Regions from separate parts of the Homo sapiens genome. Here regions 2, 3, 4 and 5 are each linked to region 1. The links are contacts of gene promoters, found by promoter capture Hi-C in blood cells and fetal thymus (Javierre and others, 2016). All regions are on one chromosome and are shown on one strand. Each heading gives the region's core, a stretch centred on a gene start or on the middle of the fragment in contact. The rest is flanking DNA. Distances are from core to core; before and after follow the strand shown.

The links. Contacts are between HindIII fragments. The CHiCAGO score rates a contact against its expected background, and 5 or more counts as called.
Region 2: a fragment that was not itself captured here is called in contact with the fragment with the promoter of AFTPH in region 1 in 1 of 17 cell types (monocytes); the score reaches 5.6 in monocytes.
Region 3: a fragment that was not itself captured here is called in contact with the fragment with the promoter of AFTPH in region 1 in 3 of 17 cell types (non-activated CD4 T cells, neutrophils and total CD8 T cells); the score reaches 5.6 in non-activated CD4 T cells.
Region 4: a contact is called between a fragment that was not itself captured here and the fragment with the promoter of AFTPH in region 1, in 15 of 17 cell types (M2 macrophages, neutrophils, total CD8 T cells and 12 more). The highest score is 13.5, in M2 macrophages.
Region 5: a contact is called between a fragment that was not itself captured here and the fragment with the promoter of AFTPH in region 1, in 13 of 17 cell types (neutrophils, naive CD8 T cells, activated CD4 T cells and 10 more). The highest score is 12.6, in neutrophils.

What each region holds. Positions count from the first base shown.
Region 1 is chr2:64,521,581-64,525,994 of GRCh38, reverse strand. It overlaps AFTPH (aftiphilin), which reads right to left and starts at 1,667. Exons shown (of 10, transcript NM_203437.4): 1 at 1,383-1,667. AFTPH-DT (AFTPH divergent transcript) reads left to right here and starts at 1,840. Exons shown (of 1, transcript NR_136167.1): 1 at 1,840-3,806. MIR4434 (microRNA 4434) reads right to left here and starts at 482; the gene lies at 430-482. RefSeq lists enhancers at 788-1,288, 1,289-1,789, 1,891-2,110 and silencers at 1,161-1,410, 1,421-1,500, 1,531-1,690. The HindIII fragment of the contact is 6,179 bases long and covers 1-3,070 here.
Region 2 is chr2:64,940,533-64,944,946 of GRCh38, reverse strand. No RefSeq gene overlaps it. Among named protein-coding and RNA genes, the nearest start is that of LINC02245, 10 kb to the right of the region's middle. The HindIII fragment of the contact is 1,220 bases long and covers 1,155-2,374 here.
Region 3 is chr2:64,138,608-64,143,021 of GRCh38, reverse strand. All of the region lies in intron 1 of PELI1 (pellino E3 ubiquitin protein ligase 1), which reads left to right. Among named protein-coding and RNA genes, the nearest start is that of PELI1, 3.6 kb to the left of the region's middle. The HindIII fragment of the contact is 2,351 bases long and covers 1,488-3,838 here.
Region 4 is chr2:64,878,769-64,883,182 of GRCh38, reverse strand. No RefSeq gene overlaps it. Among named protein-coding and RNA genes, the nearest start is that of LINC01800, 17 kb to the right of the region's middle. The HindIII fragment of the contact is 3,256 bases long and covers 975-4,230 here.
Region 5 is chr2:64,854,599-64,859,012 of GRCh38, reverse strand. All of the region lies in intron 1 of LINC01800 (long intergenic non-protein coding RNA 1800), which reads left to right. Among named protein-coding and RNA genes, the nearest start is that of LINC01800, 6.8 kb to the left of the region's middle. The HindIII fragment of the contact is 8,781 bases long and covers 1-4,414 here.

The sequences.
Region 1 (4,414 bases), core at 418-2,917:
GATCAACTGATATATCTAATTTAATCCACGGAGGAACAACTAGAGCTAATGAATATCTGCTAGGTGCCATTTACTGGGCTAGATGTTTTACACAAGATCTGTCTTTTAATCCATGTGAAATATCTTTATGAACAAAATTTAGGAGACTACCACAGATACTTTGTTTAAACAAATATACCTCTGCGAAGTGTTAAAAATGACTACTAAAAAAGCCAACATTTAAACTGGTAAAGCATATAAAATGTACGTGACTGTGTTAATTATATTAACATAATAATGTTGAAACATTTGTTGTCCCTAGAGTTTAGCATATATTTTAATGTCTAAGAGGTTAACTGAAAGCAACAATTAAGTGTAGCATCAAAGATAAACTCTGTGTCTCCCCTCCACCAAATAAAATCCTCGGAATAGGAGGTGGAAGGAAGACTTACACTGTAGGAAAAGTTGAAAACCAAAGTTCTACTTTACTTCTCCTAAAGTGAGAACTTTGAAACGGAACCATTACTTTTGTTTCATCCCCCCGCCCAGTAAAAAATTTACATGTATGAGTCAGTTCTTCCCTCGGCCCCAACAGAAAAGATTCAGTATAACCAAGCTATAACTTGCACAAAGCAACAAGGAAAAAAAAACCTTGCTATCCCCATTACTTTCCTAATAGAGCAAGGACCCTACCACCCCTCACTCCATACTCTGCCTCTGCCCCAAGCAAGACGCAGCACCTGCCAAACCAGGCACTTAAGGAATATGGTCCAACTTTTCAAACGCAAACTGGAGAGGAGACGCAGATAATTTCTTGAAGAGTGCAAGAAGACAGCAGAAAAGGTACTCTGAGGAAGGGATGCGTGAGCTTTGGGGCTGTCCCCTCTGCCTGTTGGAGGATTCCAAATTCGCTTGCTTCAGAGACCCTTGGAAGCAGCACACTCAGGTCGCGGCCAGCCTCGGGCCTCGGTGAAGGAGGCAGTGTTTACACCTGTCACGAGGGAGGGGGAAGGAGAGCGAAGAAGCCCAAGCAAAGCCCCAAACTTCTGAACAGCTCCCTGGAGAACGCAGCCAGCGCGGAGCTTTGGGAGGTGGAAGCAAAGGGGCAGGGAGAGCCGGCGGTGGCCGGGGAGGGAAGGACTCCCACTTACCCGGCCGGTGCCCGGGATGGCGAGGAGGGGGCCGTGCGCTTCGGGCGCCACCAGCGGCGTTCCCGCACTCGCCGCAGAAGAGAGCAGAGCCGGGAGCCCGCAGGCCCGCAGAGCCAGCTCCGTCCTCACAGCTCCCGGCTCCGCGGCGGGCAGATGCTCCCGGCCCGGGTGAGGGTCTGGCTGCTGGGCCGGGCCTGGTCCCCGCACCCTCTTTCCCCGGCGCAGCTAGGGGAGCGGAGCGGCGGCGCTTACCTGGCTCCTTCGGGGCGGCTGCGATGGGCATGGCTCAGGGGCCCGGGGAGGAACTGACTCCCCGGGGAAGGACCGTCTATTCCGACGCGGAACTGGTGAGAGCGGAAGGCCGGCTGCTCACAGCCCTGTCAGCGCAGCAGCACCATGGACGCCCACCCGGAGTTTCACCGCTGCCGCGGGACCCCCATCCCACTACCCTCCGCCCTCTTCCGCCGCCGCCGCCGCCTCCTCCACCTCCTCCGCGGAGACCCCCCGCCCACTCCACACACTCTCCCATCATGCAGCGGGGGAACCGCTGCCGCCGACACGTCACTTCCGGGCGCAGGTGGCTAGGTCGGGACCGGGCGCTGGTGGGTGCTGTGGGGTGGGGGAGGACACTCCAGGGGAATTGGTGTCACAGAACGCTTATCCCTGCGCAGGCGCTGTCGTGCAGAGCGCCGACCGCCATTTTGGGTGCGGGCAAGCTGCCCTTTCCTTTTACTTCCTTGCGAGTCATAGAGCTGTAGGGGGATAGACGTCTTCCCGCACTCAGGCGCCGGTTGAGGCTGCGCTCCTGGCGAAGGACAGGTGCTCCTTTCAGCCGGTTAACGTTCAGCTCAAGACCGGATTAAGTCTCTTGCTCTCCAAATAAAATTGTAAAGGTTTGGAAATATAGAACCACATTTTTACCAAAAACCTACTAGAGAGCATTCGTCAGCTTGCCCTTTTCGCCCCGAAAAACGACTTTTTCATTCACAGCCTGTCTCTTCCTCTTTTTAAATTTATGCCGACAGAGGAAGAAGCTGATATTTAACAAATAACAAGAGGTTGCGATAAATAGAATTTAAGGTGGGAAAGCAGCCGCCAAACTGACAAATCGTCTTCGAGACCGACAAGAAAATAGTAGTCCGGAATTTGGCTAATGGATGGAGAAGGTGGTCGTTTTTCATAGACCCTTACGGAGAATATCTAGTGAAGCTAAAGAGATCACCATAAACTTATGCATTCAAACGCATTTCTGGAACAGAGGTCGTAACCGATTTTGTTTCCATCATCAGTCCTGAACAGTTGATTATTTATATAATCAACTGTTATTTATATAAAGGTAATAAAAATATTACCTTTCCTCCTCCTTTACAATGAATATCTGTTAGAACACCTGCCAGTGTAACAATCAGACTACAAGGCTACAGGATTATGATTACTGTCTCGGATGATGAGCCCGGGGTCCTACAAATCATGACCCCCGCCGGCCCCTCATTCTGCCCATATTTGCCAAACGTCTGCATCAGTAATTTGAATAATTTAAAATAGTTCCAAAACAGCAAAGCTCAGCAGTTACGCAAAGAAACAAGAATGGAAAACATCCCCTCAGGCACAGAGAAGTGTCCACCCCTTTGGGTGGAGGAATTATACAAATCAGGAGAAAGATAAGGACAATAGCAGTTCATCACGATTTATCCCGCCTCTGCAATGTTCTAGACAAATTAACTCGGAGCGCTCCAATGGACCCGCATTTGTCTCTTTACTATTCAATCGCTGTAAGATATACGGAGACTGCATCACTTTAAATGGGAGTATCAATTGCTTTGTGGTTATGCTGGATTTTGTGTTATTGCTCAGTCACTAAAGTAAGAAAAATCTATATGGCTTGTCAAATTTATGCCTATTGTATTTCGCCCCCTGCTGGTTTAGCTCGTGTGCAAGCTTGAATTTGTGTGTGTGTAGAAACTAGAAATTGATTTTAAACGAACACATGCTTGTTTTCATTTTACAGCTCTACTAAACAGAAATATCAAAATAAGAACATATGACTAGACCTTAAAGCAGACCCTACACTAAGAACATGTTTAAACTAAATGAATTTAAACTGCACTCCAGCCTGCGCGACAGAGTGAAACCCTGTCTAAAAAAAAATTAAATTAAATTGCACACCCCCCATCAGCTTACAATTTTGTAATAGGGAAATTGAGTACCTATTTGGCCAACTAACTTGTAATTGGTAATCTTACATGTAATTCCGAAGACAGTGCCCTAATGCTCATGACATTTTATTACAAAGGGAAAGTATTTGAGTGTTTTTAAGGTGATAAATCTGTGGGAAATATAAAGTCCATTTCATTTGGAGTCAATGATAGTATTGTTTTTATTTACCTTTTAAAAATTATGGCCATAACTGCATTACCTAAGATTTGGCATCAAGAAAAGAAGAAGAAAAAAATTACCAGTTAACATTTGTTGTATTTACTTCTAGTTTTTTTTTCCTGTGCGTACTTTTTACAAACTTGTAATCATAATTTAAGTAGATTTTGTGTCCCTTTTGTGTTGTAAGCATTTCCACCCATCGTTTAATGTAAAACCTTAATTTTAATTGGCTGCTTAGTAGTCAATGGAATGACCACTATATGGATAGTTTTCAGTATTATAAAATAATACTTAGATGAACATTTTGTGTGTGTGGCTTTGTTCAATTTTAGAATTTTTTTTCTCAGTATAAAAGTTACTAAGCGAAAAGGCAATGAATGTTTTATTGGTAATTTATCATCTCATATTATTTTCCAAGAGACTGCTAATTTAGAATGCCACCAGCAATATATGAGTGCACTAATTTTACCACCTCCTTACCAACCAGCAGTGAATGATAATTAAGAGGGGAAAAAAAGATGGAAAGAATAAAAAGTGAAAACAGTTTAATTCATTTTATATTGTGTAAGAAATTAACAGACAAGCAAGAACAAAACCTCAGCAATGTGTTGGTGTTCTGGAAAAGCAATATGCGTAGAACCTGGGTCTATGACCAGTTCTGTTGTCACTATGATTTTGTATAAGTTACTCAACCTCTCTTGACCTCAGTCTCCTTATATAACAAATGAGAGAATACAGTCAGATCACAGGTTCTCAACCCTCTTAGGACAAATAATGTTTTGGCACATGTATCTCTTTAAGAATACGGTAAAAGCTTTGGCTCTTTCTATAGAAAAATGCTTGTATCCACAGACACTCAAATTTCTCATCCTAAAGCTCATTCACAGAAGAGGGTCTTTGAACCACAG
Region 2 (4,414 bases), core at 515-3,014, 420 kb before region 1:
TTGTACCTTTTTTCTTGGGGCATGTAACCTGGACCCGGGGAGGTGAGGGTCTGGCCAGGGTCACAGCTAAGGACATGTGTCCTGGCTCAGAGAGCAGAGCAGTGCTCGCCCACTAGCCAGCTCAGGTGGGCTCTAGAATTTAGTCTGGTGGAGAAGTGCCCAGCCCACACAGGTGACAGCTCTTACTACACTCCAGGTGCTGTCGGCTTATCAGATGTTATTTAATTCTCGCAGCAGCCTATGGGGTAGTTGAGTAGTGTGGCTGGAATGTCAGGGGTGTGTAGGGACGCCTTAGGAATGAACCTGCAGAGGTCAGTTAGGACTAGGCTGGGGAGGAACAGAATGCCATGCCAAGGATCCCTCCTCTGGGTGAGGGGGAGTGATCAGGGGCTTTTGGTAGGGAAGTAATGTGACCTGGCTTATTTTTTTGAGAATGGATTGGAGGGGCAAGAGCAGAGCAGAGCAGAGCAGAGGCTGAGAGAGGAGGTGATGGGGCATGAGGGATGGCGGCTGGGACTAATGCTGGGGCCTTGGGCGAGGACAGGAAGACAGCTTTCTGGTCTGGAGAGGGAAGCAGCATGGGGATCACTAGAGAGGAGAGCCAGAGAGGAGGCAGAGGCCCCAAAGGAGGAAGAAACCATGAACAAGAGTCTTGCTTAGGCTCTGTCCCCAACCAGCTTTGGAACCTTGGGCAAGTCACGTCATCCCTCCGGGACTCAGTTTTCACTGCTGTAAAATGATGGGGCTGAATGCATCCTCTCCCATGGTAAGAACGATGGGCCTTTTGCACATTTCTTTTGCTCCAGGGGTGGGGAAAGCCTGAACCATGGCATAATGCCTGGCACTGCCAGGAGCACCAGAGGAACTGCCAAAGTGGCAGGGAGTGGCCGGCACATGGGGCCAGTTGGCATTGAAGCAAGCAGCATGGCAACGCTAAGGCAAAGAGCAGGCCAAGGCTGCCGGGGCTTGCCAGTGTGGGCAGGATGCTGGAGTAACTGTGGCAGGGCTCCAGCAGACACGAGCAAGGCCAGTCTGGGAACCGCATCCCCCCTTTACATAATCATCCTTACGGCAACATGTTTTCTCATTTCAGTTAAGCAGTGCCAGGCCTCTGATCAAATGGCTTTTGTAATCCTTGTTGTCAAGTTTAAGCTTGAGCAAACAGTAAGGCAGCCTGAGAGTCACCTCAGCCTTCTGACTCAGCGTCCCTGTGTGCAGCGGATGGGATGGGATCTTCTAAATGTCCCTTCTGACACTAAAATGCTAGGAGCCTTCTGTTAGAATTCCACCCTCTAAATCATACCATGCTGGGGGCACCTCACGCCTCTGAGTGTGATCAAAGCTCACTGCAGCCTCAAACTCCTGGGCCCAAGTGATCCTCCTCTCTCAGCCTCCTGAGCGGCTGGGACCACAGGCGTGTACCACCACGCCCAGCTAATTAATTTTTCTTTTCTTTTTTTTTTTTTTTTTGTAAAGACAGAGTCTCACTATCTTGCCCAGGCTGGTCTTGAATTCCTGGCCTCTAGCAAGCCTCCCACCTCAGACTCCCAAAGTGCTGGGATTATAGGTGTGAGCCACCACACCCAGCCTTTATACATCTTGAAATACACTTTTCAGCTGTAGAGCCATGATACGTGATTTAAATTCTCTGTGCCTGTTTCCTTGGGCCTGGCAGAGAAAGTGTGAATAGCCTATTGTGGCCGTATACCTGGGGATGATAATGCTACCTACTTTGCTGTTAGGAATACTAAGTGAGAAAGTATGAGTGAAACCTTCAGCACAGAGCCAGGCACACCGTAAGTGCTCCATGAACGGACAGCTATTATTGTAATTACGCATTCAGCCATCAGAACTTACTGCATGTCGAGAGCTGTGCAAGGCTCAGGGGATAGGGTACTAACCAGTTAGGCTGACGAGCAAGTGTCCTGTCCTCACCGGGTGGCTGTCTGAAGGAGAGGCAGACCAGTCAACCAGTTTCCCTTAACTAGTACATATGCCCTCTGCTAGGGAAGCAAGAGTGGCTGCAGGAGCCCACAGGAGGGGCACCCACCCCAGAGCCATGGGCGGCAGGCCACTGCAGCTGCCCTCTGCTGTCTGGATGCCTTCCCCTGGCCTGGAAAGAGCTTCCCCCAGATGGCTCCATGACCCACTCATTCATGTTATTCAGGACTCTGCTCAGGCATCACCTCCACAAGGAGCCTTCTCCAATCTTTCTGTCTAAAACAATCCCTACCCACCCTGCCGCCTTTATCATTCCATTCCATGCCCTCATGCTGCTTTATTCTCTTTACAGTACTGATCTTTTCTACCAGCGGATTGTGGATCTGTTTTGAAAAATATGTTTATTGACCATTTACCCACCACAAAGTAAGCTTGGTGAACGCAGGGGCTTTACCTATTTTGTATTCCTTATTGCATCCCCAGTGCACTCCCAGAACAATGCCTGGGCCACGGTGAGCCATCAATGCCTGTCTTGGGTGAACAAAGTGACCACTAAGCTAGATCCTGTAGGATGCATAGAGATTGACCAGGGAAAGGGTCAGGGAGAGAAGAGAGAATCTTCCAGGCAGAGGGAGCAGCATGTACAAAACCAGGGGAGGAGAGCAGAACATGATGGGAGGTAGTTCTGTATGACAGGCATGTTCATTAACAGAGCAGGAGGAGCAGGCAGCGAAAGGAAGAGCTTTCTGCTGGAGCTTCTGAATCATGATGTGGGTCTGACCCCATGGAAGGAGCCAGGGCAGGAAGGATGATTGGAGAGGAAAGTCTCAGACTGCAGCATGGTTCTAAGAAGGTTTTGGCCAGGCAGATGGGGAGTCCCTGAGCCAAAGCTGGCCCTCAGAGGAATTCCCCATCAGGCAGAAGCTAGTGCCGTGTTATGCTCAGCCTTTGGCTGGAATTAGCTCAGGGGACGTGTGGCTTTGGAGGGATGCAGTGAGGGATCCTGAAGGGCGGGAACTGTGGCTGTCACTTGACTGCTCCCTGCAGCCGGAGACCTCGATGGTGCAATTCCATGGCTGCCCAACAAGCAGAGAGGGCAAGGAAGGAAGTGGTGAGAATTGAGTCTGGAGAGCTAAACATGGACCAGATCACCAAGGGTACTTCAGGCCCTGTTAAAGAGTTGGATTTTATCATGAAGGCAATGAGATGCCAGGATATGGTTTTGTTCAGGGGAAACAGAATGATTGGATTTGCATGTCAGAAGGATCACTTTGGCTATTATGTAGAACATGGAAAAGAAAACCTTTTGAAAAGTCTAGACTAGTAATCCAGGCTCCCTTTATTATTATTGTTATTATTATTATTATTTGTTTTCATTCTCACTGTGAAAGCAGTTTGAGAAATAGACACAGATGGCCTCCTCGTGGAAGTCAAACCTCACCTTTATTCCTGAATAAGCAGTTAGCAAATGTGCCTTTGTTGTGAGGGCCAAATGGGTTTCCAGTCACTCCCTGCCCAATGGTTCCCTCCAGTCTAGGCCTTGGGCAGCCACCCAGGCATCCATCTGGGTCTTCTCTGGAGAATCACTGCCTTCCTCTGGCCAGGATGAGGAGGGGAAGAAGAGGCTGAGTCCCCGGCACTTATCATGGTCTTTCCATTGCTGAGCTCCACCTAATGGAGGAACATGGACACCTCTCACCCCAGGTGAGTTGGCCGTGTTAGCTCTAGAAGCACAGGGATGGGAAATCTGCGTTCTCCACCTTTGCAGGTGAGAGATAATGGTGGCCCAGTCAGGTTGGTGGCATTGGAGGGAGGAGGACAGAAAGAAGAATTGACAAGACTTAGTAACTGACTGGATGGTGTGGGTGATGGTTCTGTGTGCTCAAAGAAAAGTCAAGAATGAGGCTCAGGTGTCTGCCTCGCACGACAATGGTGGGCCATGCAATTCTATTTCCAGTCCACTTCCAGCCCTTAAGGTACCTTTGTGAGAGTTAGAAACAGGGCCTGCTGAGCAGGAGTAGCTATTGCCAAGGTGACATCCTATGAGTGGCATAGGCTGGATTCTGTCTCCCACACTCCTCCTGGCTAGAGGCCTCTGTGCAGGCTACAACCTGTATGGCCACACATTGTGGACCTGACACCACTGACTGAAATAGGGAGTGAGGAGCCAGTTGGTGAGCTGAATTTTAAGCATATTAGGTTTGAGGTGTCTGAAGACAATATGACATTGTGAGTCTGTTTCTTATTATTATTGAGGTGAAATTTGCATAACATAAAATTAAATATTTTATGTTATGTTATGTTATGTTATGTTTGTTATGTTATTTGACAGAGTCTTACTCTGTCACCCAGGCTGGAGTGCAGCCCCCACTTGATCCCTGCTCACTGCAACCTCTGCCTCCCAGGTTTAAGCGATTCTTCTGCCTCAGCCTCCTGAGTAGCTGGGATTACAGGCGCCTGCCACCACACTCGG
Region 3 (4,414 bases), core at 1,414-3,913, 380 kb after region 1:
CAGTATATCAACAAATGTTATTGAGAACTTTATTCATAAGGTGCTGGTTGTGCTAAAAACTGAAGCTTTATATATAAGAAAAGGTCATCTGTTTCGGTTCACAGGCTCTTTACTTTTTCTTACTCTGCAAAATGTTACTTTGTTTTCATTGCACATGATCTTTTGTTTCAGAAATGGCATTGTCCTTTACTGTGTCGAATATGTATTACTCTTACACTTAAGGATAAATGAATTTATTATTAAGTTTTCATAATAGGGTGAATTTAAAATATTTTAATTGTGGTAAAGGTTCACTTTATTCAGTTCTGTTTCAGTTTACGATGCGTTTTCTTTATAGCCAACAAAATATTTTCTGAGTGATAAGATTTACATGTCTCAAAACATTGTTCTTAGTGTACAAATACAGCATATGAATTCCTTGTTTTTTTTATTTATACCAACAACCTCTTCTGGGGAAAAGTCTTTAACTCTGAGGACCTTATTTATTTTGTGAGTTTTTATTTCTTCGGTACCATACTGGAAAGCACCAAAAATTTAAACCAAGCATCACTTCTACTAGCTCTTTCCTCAGGTAAATAATAATCAGAACTGTAGTAATAGTGAATAGTTTCACTTACTCTAAATTCTCTTAAATTTAATTTTGTACTATATAGTTGTCCTTACATTTTAGATTTTGGTGGTTGCATCAGAAAATGAAAGTGAGATGTTCGTTATTTTATTTTTTTTCCCAAAGCCTTCTAACCTGTTCCCTTTCTATAGTATGTTAAAAGAGATCTTGAGTTTAAAATAAATAATTGGAAAGTAGAACAGTTATATGTATGGAAAGTTGCATGTAGTGAAGTGGTTATAGTGTCTCATGTAGTGAATGTACAGGTTTTAAAGAGGAAACTATCACCTAGCTTTTTATTAGCATGGTAGAAGTGCTGTAATGTAATAGTAGTAGTATTTATTTGCTTCTAAAAAGTAAGCTGGAAATTTGCCTCAGTGGAATTTGTAGGGGGAGGGAATCCATTCTTTCCTTAAGATTGGCATTTAAATGTTCTTACAGTTGGTTATGTTGAACTTTTTCTGTGGTATTTTCAAGCCAGATTTACCAGGAACATTTGTACTTCAAGGAAGCTACTAACACTGTCTTGGCTCAGTCACTGGAATCCACAGGCAGAAGTTAGTGTTGACTGGCAAAGTCTGGCTTTGCAGGTTTCATAATTTCTTTGAGACCCCTTAAAGGAAATGACTGAAAAGTACGGGGTAGGAAGTTAGTCTAGTACTGCCAAATGCCACTGAGGCAAGTTTCAAAGGGGAAGCCAAAGGATGTTTCCATTTGATTTAAGTTCAGCCTCTTCTGGGTTGTCAGAATGTCACTTTTGTATTTTAAGAGTTCTATCATTTCAGAATATGATGTATTATGGTTTTCTAGTAGGTCAGGTGGTAAGGACTGTAGATAGTCATTATGCTTCGTGGACAACTAATGTTTTTAGGCAGAAGCTTCTATAGCTGATAAAGATTTTAAGCCAAAGACTTAGAATTGAAAACTAATATATACATACACATTTTACCATAATACATCAATGTAGACCTATCCTAGTATTTATTAGGTTAGAAAGGCTTTTTGGATTATTTTATTATACAGATATATTTAACTGTAAATATTAAAATTTCATAATGACTAATATATGATGGCACTGAGGTGGCTTTAGGAGCTCCTTTGGGGTGGGGGCGGGAAACATGTTATTCCAAAAGTTACATTTATGTCTTTGAGGACAGTAAAGCAGATTTAAAAGCCAGTGAGAAAAGGAAGAAAATCAGCAAAGTGAAGAAAACCTGATGAAGATGTTTTTAAATAATACAATGTAAAGATTGTTGGCAGCATTTATATATAAGGGACAAAATTCTAGTTGAAGTCTATAAACAGTGAATTCCACTTAGCACTTTCTGTTTATAGATTTCTAGCCATCTTTTCCAGATTCCCTCTGAATATATTACACAGGCAAAGTAAATAGAAGTCATTCTTTCAAGGGATTTGGGTTCTTGGAGATTTTTTTACACTTGTGGTAGTGGGGGAGGGGAAGTGCTTATTATATTTTCTTAGTTTTAAGTGTGACCTGTGCCATAGAATATTTCCCTAGACTAATGTGTGGGAACCTCAAGACAAGAATTATTGGTCATTGAAAGATCTGGATATGATTTCAAGTTCTGCCCCTAGGTTTTTTTTTGTTTGTTTGTTTTTTTTTTTTGCATGTTGTCTTGAGTAGATCACTTCTATTTTTCCTTCAAAGGCTGAAAATAACTGCCTAACATACTATGTTTAGTAGGTCCTAAATACTTTTTGTTGTTTAATGAATTTACAGGTAATAAAGAGAAAGCACAGTGTTTCTTGAATGGATGTCAGGGAATTTCTAATTTTTTTCTTTTTTGATAGAAAAAAGTAATCAAAACATAAACATCTGATTGGAGTCTTTCAGTTAGCTTACCTACCTTCAGAAATAAGCCTAGAGAAAGAGAGCTTCATCTGGTAGTTTAACAGAAATGAATTGTAAATGACTCTTAAGAAGAATTGACAATTTTTCGGAATGTTGTACTAGATGTTTTAGATTCTTTTTGCCACATAAACTCCACTTCAGAGAAATGGGGTTCTACATAGTACTCTTGTATCGCCCCTGTAATACCTTTACACCTCAAAATACCAGTTGCAGAAAAATAGAATGTGTTGCTGATGCCTATAAATGGGAAAATCCTGACATCTGTCTTCATCCTCCAGTTAATCTTCATGTAGTTTTTAAAAAAATTAATTCAACACACATGTAATTTACTTCCTTTTCAGAAAATTTGTTGCTAATTTTTATTTTATAATGAGCCTCTTGGGATGTTGCTAATTCTAAAAATATGTAATACCCGCGGTTTCCCACCATCTTCTGCAGTTTCTTTTTCTATTATTTTTTTGGCTACAGTTTTCTTTTTCCCCTAAGCTGTCTAAAATAAGCTAAGAAATGTTTAAATGTAGTTGACAAGAAACACAGTCAGTAATTTATCATGCTAAAATTTCAACATACAAGGTGCAATGAAATCTGTTTTAGGGATAGTACACTTTTGAAGGGGGCTAAAGCAGGGACAGCAAATAAATTTCGTTTGGGGTACCAAATCTGATTGTTTAGTGGTGGCTGCCTAGAGTGCTGTGTTTAGAAAACTGGGAGTCCTTGTTCAAACTTAGCAGGAAAGAGTACTGTGATTAGCAATTTCTGCTGTTGGTGAGCGGTGGACTTTTGGCATGGATGCCAAATACATTCAGTGTTTATTGATGCCGTTTACATGTCACAGGTCTAGATGCTGATACCTCATAGACTAAAATCTCTGCTTTCATGGTGTTTACATTCTAGTAATAAGACACAAACCATAAAATAAATAAAATACATTGCGTTTTAAGAAAAATGGCTGGGCGCAGTTGCTGACACCTGTAATCCTAGCACCTTGAGAGGCTGAGGTGGGAAGATCCCTCTTGTCCAGGAGTTCAAGACCAGCCTGGGCAACGTGGTGAGACCTTGTCTCTACAAAGAAGTTTCTTAAAAAATTAACTGGACGTGGTCCCAACTACTCGGGAAGCTGAGGTGGGAAGATCACTTAAGCCTGGGAGATTGAGGCTGCAGTGAACCATGATTGCACCACTGCACTCCAGCCTGGGCAACAGAGCGAGACCCTGCCTCAAAACAATAGAAGTTAAAAAATAAATAAAAGAAAAATGACCTGATTTATTCAAAAAATTAATAGCAAGAAATAGGGAGGGAGAACTATAAGATTAAAAGAGACTTAAGAGGCTTTTCCACCAAATGCAATGTATGAAGCTTAGTTCTATCCTGCTTTGAGCAAACTAACTGTAAAAAGACATTTATTCAAAATTGGGGAAATTTAGACTCTGGATATTTAATGAAAAGGATTTGTCCATTTTTTCAGGTGTGAGAATGTACTTTTTAAGTGTTCTTTTAGAGATGTATAATGAAGTGTTTACAACTTAAAATGTGATGTGTGGGTTTTTACTTCAAAATATTGAAAGGGAGAGGAACATAGATGAAACAAGATTGGCCATATATTGAAAATTGCTGAAGGTAGATGCTATATGGATACATGAGGTTTCTTACTTCCTCTTTATTTTTGTGTATGTTTGAAATTTCCCCTAATAAACAGTTTTACACACAAACAGGAAAATAAAGCAGGGAAGGGGAAGGGAGAATAAATGGGATATGTGTATGAGGTTCGGAGGAGGATGCAGTTTTTTGCTTTTTGTTTCTTGTTTTTTGTTTTTGAGATGGAGTTCTGCTCTCATCACCCAGGCTGGAGTGCAGTGGGGCGATCTCAGGTCACTGCAAATTCTGTTTCCTGGGTTCAAGTGGTTCTCCTACCTCAGCCTCCTGAGTAGCTGGGA
Region 4 (4,414 bases), core at 1,353-3,852, 360 kb before region 1:
AGCAGGCTTTGTTTCCATTTCTTTACCTCCTGTCACTTGCCGTATTTTGATAATGCTCTAAATTACAGGACCTAGAACTGGTCTTTAATTACAGAGTACTTTAACAGGGCTTGCTGGCGAATACCATAGAATTACAGGAGCCACTAATGAAATACAGCATCATTTTATCTGTTCTCTGGTGGCAGCTTTTAAAATGCAATTAGAACCGTGTAAGATATTTATTTAGGATTTTATCTCATTTATTTATTCCATCTCCAAATGAATGTTGTACTTCCAGCTGCCTTTTTACTCCTTCACGCGAGCATTTTCTTATTTTCAATCCACTCTTTTCTCCCCTGTTAGACTTCAGGGAGCCAGGATGTCAGCAGCCTGGAGAGCTGAAGAAGGGAAGCAAACATCTTCAAGACGTCTCCCGGCCTGCCCACTGCTCTGCCCAGGCTTGGAGGGAGGGAGAAAGGGACACAAAAGTTCATGTCACACTCCAGGCTAAAATTCTCCCAGGTGCCCTACCATTACCTACAGGCAAACAGCCTAATTCCTGTTTTCCCAAGACAGGAGAAGCCCTGCACAACCTGGCCTGGCCTCTCCCATCCCTGTTCCAGGCATGCTTTCTTGTGTGGATCACTCACTCCCACCCTCAGAGGGGCCAGGCATTTCCACACCTCTCCACTTTTGTCTCAAATAAAAATATTCTGGAATTAGATAGCGATAATGGTTGTACAACATTGTGAATATACTAAAAACCACTGAGTTATACACTTTAATTAATTAATTAATTTAAGACAGTGTCTTACTCTGTTGCCGAGACTGGAGTGCAGTAGCATCATCACGGCTCACTGCAGCCTCAACCTCCCAAGCTCAAGTGATCCTCCTGCCTCAGCCTCCCAAAGCCACAGGCATGCACTGCCATGCCTGACTAATTTTTTTTATTCTTAATTTTGAAGAGATGGGGGTCTCGCCATGTTGCCCAAGCTTGTCTGGAGCTCCTGGGCTCAAGCCATCCTCCTACCTCAGCCTCCCAAAGTGCTGGGATTATGGGCATGAACTACTGTGCCTGGCCCAGTTATACACTTTAAAGTGCTAATTTTATGTTATGATAATTATATTTATAGCATTTAAAGCCCACTCAAGTGTCATATCCTCTATAAAAGCCATTCCTTAGCCTCTTCTGTCACCCAACCCATCTTCCCACCCCAAAACAGATCCCATTTCTTCTAGGATCCCTTTGTCCATACTCATCAATACCCGCCTGGTCCACTGCATGGTAGCCAGCAGTATGTGTATCTCCCCTTCAAGGGTGAAGCCCTGGAGGGCGAGAGATATGAGTTCATCTTTGTGTGCCCCAGCGCCACAGCCTGCATGCTGCATATAAGAAATGCTCAACAAATCTTTGAAACCATTTCAACTCTTTCCTATGCAATAGAGCTGTCAATGTATCTGTGTCTCTTAAACCTCTCCTTCTGCCTGAAGACACTTTGGATTTATCTGGCTTGTGACCAGGCGGCTTCTGAACAAATAGGGACTTTGATCAGTTTCACAAGGTGCCCACAAGTGCCAAGCACTGTGCTGGGAGCAGTGGCCATAACAGAACTAAATGGCATGGTCCCTGCCTTCAAGGAATTGATAATCCAGTAGTGGGAGATGAGGCAAGAGTCCATACCCCTTTATCCACAGTTTCACTTTCCGTGGTTGCAGTTACCCATGGTCAACTGAGGTTCAAAAGCATTACATACAATAAGATATTTTGAGAGAGAGAGAGAAAGGGAGAGGAAGTAACCACATTCACATGACGTTTTTACAGTATAAGTGTGAAATGCCTTTTGATGAGAGTGATGAGGAAGATAGGTGGTAGACACAGCCCCTCCCCTCACTTCTGTAGCCTTAGTGCTGCATTGACCCTTGGAGTCACCTACTCGGAAGGATGTTCTAGAATAGTGTGCTAGGAAGCTCTTCTTTGTGTCCAGTGGAAGGATGTTGTTGAGGACGCTGGTTAGCACTCTGTGTTGACAAGACGAGCCATGCTGAAGACTTACATCTCTGTATGTACAGAAGAGAGCTCATCTGGCTCCAGGCAACGTCACCATACCAGGTTTGCTGCCCGATGTGTGGAAAGTGATGACACCAAGACACCAAGGTGCAGCACAGAAAGAGGGTTACTCATAAAGCAACCAAATGAGGAGATGAGAGTGAACTTCAACTCTGCCTCCCTGAGGAGTTGGGGCTAGAGATTTTAAGGGGTCTGCATGAGTGTGGGGCTGAGATGTGGGGATCATTCCTTGGCCAAAGAGTGCAGGGTGAAGCCATGGGATGGGGGGAATGAAACTACATTCTCATGCCAATTTGGTTCCTCTGTGGGGGCCTTCAGATTGGTTGGCGTCAGCCATTCCGCTGGAATTCAGGATCTGAAAAACATCTTAAGCAATCCTTAAACGAAAGCCTTATGATGCTAACCTCAGAGATCCTATCCATAAGAACAATGGGAATGCAAATGGTCATGTGTGGCTTTTATTTAGCAAGCAGCTACAAGGAAGTGTGCCAAGTGCAGCCTGATTAATGCTTAATTATATTTCTGTCAGAACCTGGCATGTAATTTTTGTTAACCCTGTGATGGTTTCAGCAAGAGACCAGGCCACACTTTCCAGCGGTGGTGTTTTCCAAGGAGGTGAAGCCCATGCAGGTGGCTCCCTCTTCTCTCTCTTCTTTCCAAGTGACCCTGGCATAGGCAGACGCTTCCCTCTGAGCCAGCCCATCCCTGTCTCCCTTTCTGTATGGACATCCTTTCTTCCTCCCTCCTGGCAGCAGGCTGAAGCAGCAGCATCGGCACACAGGAAACACACAGCCTCTCACCCTGGCCCTGCTGGGGATCCATTAGGCCAGGCTGCCCAGATCACGGTGGCGAGATTGGAGACTCAAGTTGGGGTGGCGGCTGTGAAATCGAGCACGCCTCCCAGGCTGCTTCGTCAGAAGCCATTTAGGCCTAACTGACTTAGAAAAGGGAGGCTGTTCTGGGAATCAAAATCTAGCTTCCCAGAGTTTTCTCTGCACTGGAGTTGGGGGCCCAAGCCCCAGATAATAGTGTTACAGACATTACATGCCATTTGCTCATGGGAGCCTTCTCAGCACATATATTCCTTGGGAACCTCACGGGACCAAACTGCTTGGATTCAACTCCCATTTCCTAATCAGTTGTGTGGCCTTGGGCAAATTACTTAACCTCTCGGTGCCTCAGTTTTCTCATCAGTAAAATGGGCGTAAGGTCATTGTCTTAATAAATTTACACACGTACAGCACTTTGGGCCACAGTTGGTTCATGGCTAGCACTAAACTAATGTTAGCTGTCGCCACTCCCACCTAAGGCCAGTCCCTCCAGGAACCTGACACTTTTGGTGTTCCATCTCTTCTTCTCAACCATATTCCTGTCATGGTGGGTAGCACCCCTGTTCATCCAGTTGAGCCAGCCACAAGCCTAGAGGTCACCCCACTCCCCATCCCCACAAACCGTCATCAAGTCTCATCAACCTTATTAACTTCCTTAAAAACTTCCAGATCTGTTCCCCTCTGTCCTACTCTACAACTTCTCCCCAGAGCTAGCCCAGTAGCCCCCAAGTACAACCATCCCAGCCACTACCCATTTCCACCCTGCGGCCAGAGTCCTGCTTTGAAATGCAGACCTGATCTTGTCACCCCTCCCTGGACTCGCCCTGCTGAAATCTCTTAATGACTTTCCACTCCTCTTGGGGTGAAAATCAAAACCCTAACACCATGCAGACTGAGTCTGTTAGAATATTTTTGACCCTGAGGATCAGAAACCCTAGCAAACCAGATTTAAATTACAGGCAGTTTATTAGCTTCCTCACAGGTAGACTGGATAGGGTGGGCTTCAGGCATTGTATGATTAAGGCTCTAGGAACACGTCCTGCTATTCTCTCAGCCCCGCCTTCGTCTCCAGGTGCCAGCTTTGTTCACGGTTCAGCTAGCATTCTTTTGATCAATATCAAGTGAAACACTTCCAGAGAAAAAAGGGAACATCCTGCCCAGCCATGAAATAAAACTCCTTCCTGTCAGCCTGAGTGAGCCAGCTGAGGCCATGTGCCCATTCCCAACCAAAAAATTCCTAGTGACATGCGTACACTGAGTCCTTCCATGCTCTGCCTCTGGTGGGAAATGGGTTCTTCGGGACAAAAACACATTGAAATCATGCTGAAAGATACAACTAGTATTAAAAAAGCTTTGCTTGAATGATGCACAACTCTGAAGAATATGGAAGAGATAACCATGAACCTTATAGCTCCCCACTGTTCTCAATGACGGATCTAGGATCACAGGTTCCCAGGGCCTTGACCCCATGGAGATGAGCAGCAAGAGCCAAGGGCTGGAGCACCAAGGGAGGACAAAAGGTGAGGGGCTTGCTGGC
Region 5 (4,414 bases), core at 1,813-4,312, 330 kb before region 1:
AAGGAGAGCTCAGAAAATACATTCTAGTCTCAAAGAGGAAGGAAGACAAAAGAGGATGTCTTTGTCAGTCTGCATTATGTTAACATTCATAGCCTCCCGTCACCCCCCATGATGGCAGGGCACAGGTCACCTATGGTGATGGGGACATATGAAGTTCCCTGAGTTCTTCACTTCTGTGTCATGTCCTGAACGGAATCCCAAGTTAGCTCCTGGAACCCGCAGCCTTGGCTCACACCAGCAATGTCACAGAGGTAAACTGCTCTCGCTTCCCTGAGCTTGGACTTCAGGGCCTGGCAGCCCCACCAGGCCCTCACCCTGGATGAATCCAACAGTAGGAAGTGACTGGGGAGTCCCTGAGCAGACAGAGGGAGAGGTGCCCACCGGCCCAGGCCTGATGTTCTTATGAATTCTTTTGGTTCCAGACCTTTTTGGCCTTGCCAAGCCCTACAGGAAAGATCAGAGCAGCTGGAAATTTCTAGCAGGAAAGTGCCAGGTTCTGAACAGGTCCTAGTCTGACTTAGAAACAGTTAGGGGCTGGGGCTGCTGGCGGTTGGCATTCTTGTCTGCTTGGTCTCACAGACAGGCAGGAATTGCTTGCTCTCAGAAGGGAGTGCTGCCCCTGACGCTGGGCTGGAGCCGAAGTAAACCCAGGACACGGGGCTGGGGACGATAATTAGAAGCCTCACTTCCACTCCAGCACCAAGACAGCGACACAAAGGGCCTCCTCTGCTGGCCAAGCAGGAGGGGACGGGCTGCCCTGGGGAGGGCTGAGACTGTCACCCAGTGTAGGGCCAGGCAGCTGCAAATGAAACACAGGCCCAGAAGGCTCAGACAGGCATTCAATCTTTCCCAGAGCCAAGAAATCCTGGCTAGAAACTTGACTACAGAGCGAGGAAAGGCACCGGGAAATACTTGAAACCAGGCAAGACCCCTGGTAATGCTGGACTTCTGACAAGCAAGGAGTCGGGCCAAGTGCTTCTTCCCGCCTGGCCCAAACACAAAAGCTGAGCTGGCCAGAGAGGTCCCAGGGGAGATGGGAGAGCAGCTTGGGAGGAACCCAGCAGGAAGAGGAAAGCAGGCAGCAGAGTGATTTTTACCCTGCTCAGACCCCAGAGTTTTCGCACCGCAAGTCTGCAGAGCAGGGGCCCCCACTGTCTTCACACCCACAGCCAAGGCCCCTCCGGCCATTGGAGGCTCACACAAGGGGGTTATGGAAACGCCAGTGTGGCAGCGTGGGGTCACCAACACCTCAGTGGCCAGGCTGCATGGTGCCTGGGCCAGCTTCTCTGTGAGGAAGGGGAGTTTGCAGGGAAACTGTTTGCAGAAAAGCTGTTCCTACTGTGGAGGGACTGACCTTGGCCCCTGGAGCAAACTCAGTCCTTAACCACGTGCTCAGGCTACTTAATTTTAAATGAATTTGCACAGTTGCGTGTTATGAGTGAATTCATAAACCTACAAAGGAATAGTCTTTTATTCATGCTGGTATGTGTGGAAGGGGGTTACTTTTTTAAAGTTCTAAAATTAAAGAAAAAAAGATAAATCATCCTGTGTTGAGGATTGGATTTTGCAACTGAATTCTCTTTATCCTTTGCTAGATCTTGAGAAAAGAAAGAAGAAAAAGAAATATGCTGAAGTATGATGACTTAAAAAAAAACTCTGAATATAAAAGTAGAACATGCTCTATAAAAAGAAATTCAGACAAAAAAAATAAAGAAGGGAACAAAAATCACCTGTCACCACGCCACCAGTGATAGCCCTGATAACATTTTTGTATATTTTTCCCATACTATTTTCTGTGCATACAGACATATGTTTTTATGTGAGCTAAAATTGTTAACATGGTCATGCTCTTAGCATTCTTCCTGCCCCTGTCTACTGAAGAAAATCTTGAATTTGTCTATTTGGTTTCCTTCACTTCTCTCTTCTAGGGAGAGGAACAATTATTACTTGCTGAGAGGAGCTAAGCTGATCTGCATGATGAAGGAATGGAATGGGCTAAGGAAGACGTCCAGACAGGGAAAAGCCTTATGGAAGGGAATTCAACAGAGTTTTCAGAGATTAGCACATTTGAGGCTCTCTAAATAATCAGATGTGGAGGAAGGGGCTTCTGAGATGAGCTAACACGACTATGACCCAGAGTCTTTTAATGTTCTTCCAAATACGTGATCAAATAATGGAATTTATTCTGTATTAATTTTGAGCACTAAACTGTGCATTAAGTCTATAGAGGGATTGGACCCTATGGTCTCCCCTCTGATTTACAAGAATTATGTTTTTAAAAGATGGGGTCATACTATATTTACTTTTACTTATAAAACATTTTAAAATTTTAATTTTAAATTAATTAATTTATTTTTGACACAGAGTCTCGCTCTGTTGCCCAGGCTGGAGTACAGTGGCTCGATCTGAGCTCACTGCAACCTCCGCCTCCTGGGTTCAAGTGATTCTCCTGCCTCAGCCTCCCAAGTAGCTGGGACTACAGGCCCATGCCACCATGCCCAGCTAATTTTTCTATTTTTAGTAGAGACAGGGTTTCACCATGTTGGTCAAGCTGGTCTCGAACTCCTGACCTCATGTGATCCACCCACTTTGGCCTCCCAAAGTGCTGGGATTACAGGCGTGAGCCACCCCCCGGCCTTTCAAAAAAATTTTTAATTCACCACTATACTAATGAGGATATATTTGGTACTTACATGATCTTTTTTTTTAAAAAAAAAAACAATTAAATCTTATGGTCAATAAATGCAGAAATGAATTATCCTTTGAAACAGCTGCATGGTTGGCCTTCATTTGTCTTCATCATAATTTATTTAACCCCCACTTACCGATTTTTGTCATTGTTGTTGTTTGTTTGTTTTAAATAGAGTCTCACTCTGTTTCCTAGGCTAGAGTGGAGTGGTGTAGCCTCAAACCCCTGGACTCAAACAGTCCTCCCACCTCAGCCTCCTAAATAGCTGTGACTACAGATGCACACCACCATATCTTGCTTTTTTTTTTTTTTTTTTTTTTTTTTTTTGGAGATGGAGTCTCGCTGTGTCACCCAGGCTGGAGTGCAATGGCGTGATCTCAGCTTACTGCAACCTCCATCTTTCAGGTTCAAGAAATTCTCCCGCCTCAGCCTCCAGAATAGCTGGGATTACAGGTGCATGCCACCATGTCCAGCTAATTTTTGTATTTTTAGTAGAGAGTGTTTCACCATGTTGGCCAGGCTGGTCTCGAACTCCTGACCTCAGGTGATCCATCTGCCTCGGCCTCGCAAAGTGCTGGGATTACAGGCATGAGCCACCATGGCCGGCCACATCTGGCTTTTTAAAAAATTTTGTGGAGATGGTGTTTCACTATGTTGTCCAGTCTGGCCGCAAACTCCTAGCTCAAACAATCCTCCCATTTCAGCCTTCCAAAGTTTTGGGATTATAGGTGTGAGCCACTGCACCTGGCCAACCCCTCCCCTGTTGATGCCCACTTATGTTGTTTCGAAGTTAATAAATGGTTACCTAAGGTCATCCTTATGTTCGTACATCTTTGCATCTTGCTGAATTTTTCTTTAGAACATATTCCTAAAAGCATCCATGCAGAGTTAAAGGATAATAAGAACATCAGAATTCAGTGCAGTGCCAAGTTGCTCTCTGGAAAGCAAAATTAACACAATGACCTCCAGGGTTGGGTTTCTGCTCCTGAGTGTAGTTGTGCTGCCCAGGGAGGTCCAAGTAGGCAGAGATGCTTAGGGATAGGGTGGAGTCTTTGCACATGGTAGGGAAAGAATGGAGGCTCTTCCTGGATGGAGGGCAAGAAAGGCTAGTGAAGGCCCTATGGAGGATTCATTTTGCTACCCAGCATTCTTTCCTCTGCCTGGCAATCACCTTTCCTTATTCCAAAGAGACCATTCAGTCCATAAGGTTTGGGTGGTGTTGACCTCACACTTTGCCTCTTACCTCCAGCGTGGGCTAACCATGGGGGTGACCACATAGCTTGAGCCAGATCAGTCAGAAGACTCCATACCCTGGAGTCCTTGGTGATTGGACCAAGGATGTGTCTATATCTGCATGTTCACATGACCCATTCCAGGAAGCAGCTTCCTCTCTTCTTTACTCAGCCTCATGTGACACCAGAACTGGCAGTGTCCCTCTCCTCCCACACACAAGGGCTGCTGGGATGGAGACAAAACCCTGACAACATTGCTGAACCTCAGGATACAGCCATGTCTGAAGTCAGCAGGATTCATACTGGACTTTGCAGTTACATGAGAGCCCGTATACTTCTTCCTCCCTGCCAAATTTTCATTCGATTTTATTTCTTATGTATTGAAAAAGAAAAAAGAGCCAGGCATTGGGGTGTATGTCAGCAGTTTCTGTGACTGGGGGTGGGAAGTGGAGTTTTGGGGAGAGAGTGGCTGAGGTGGGAGAATTACTTGAGC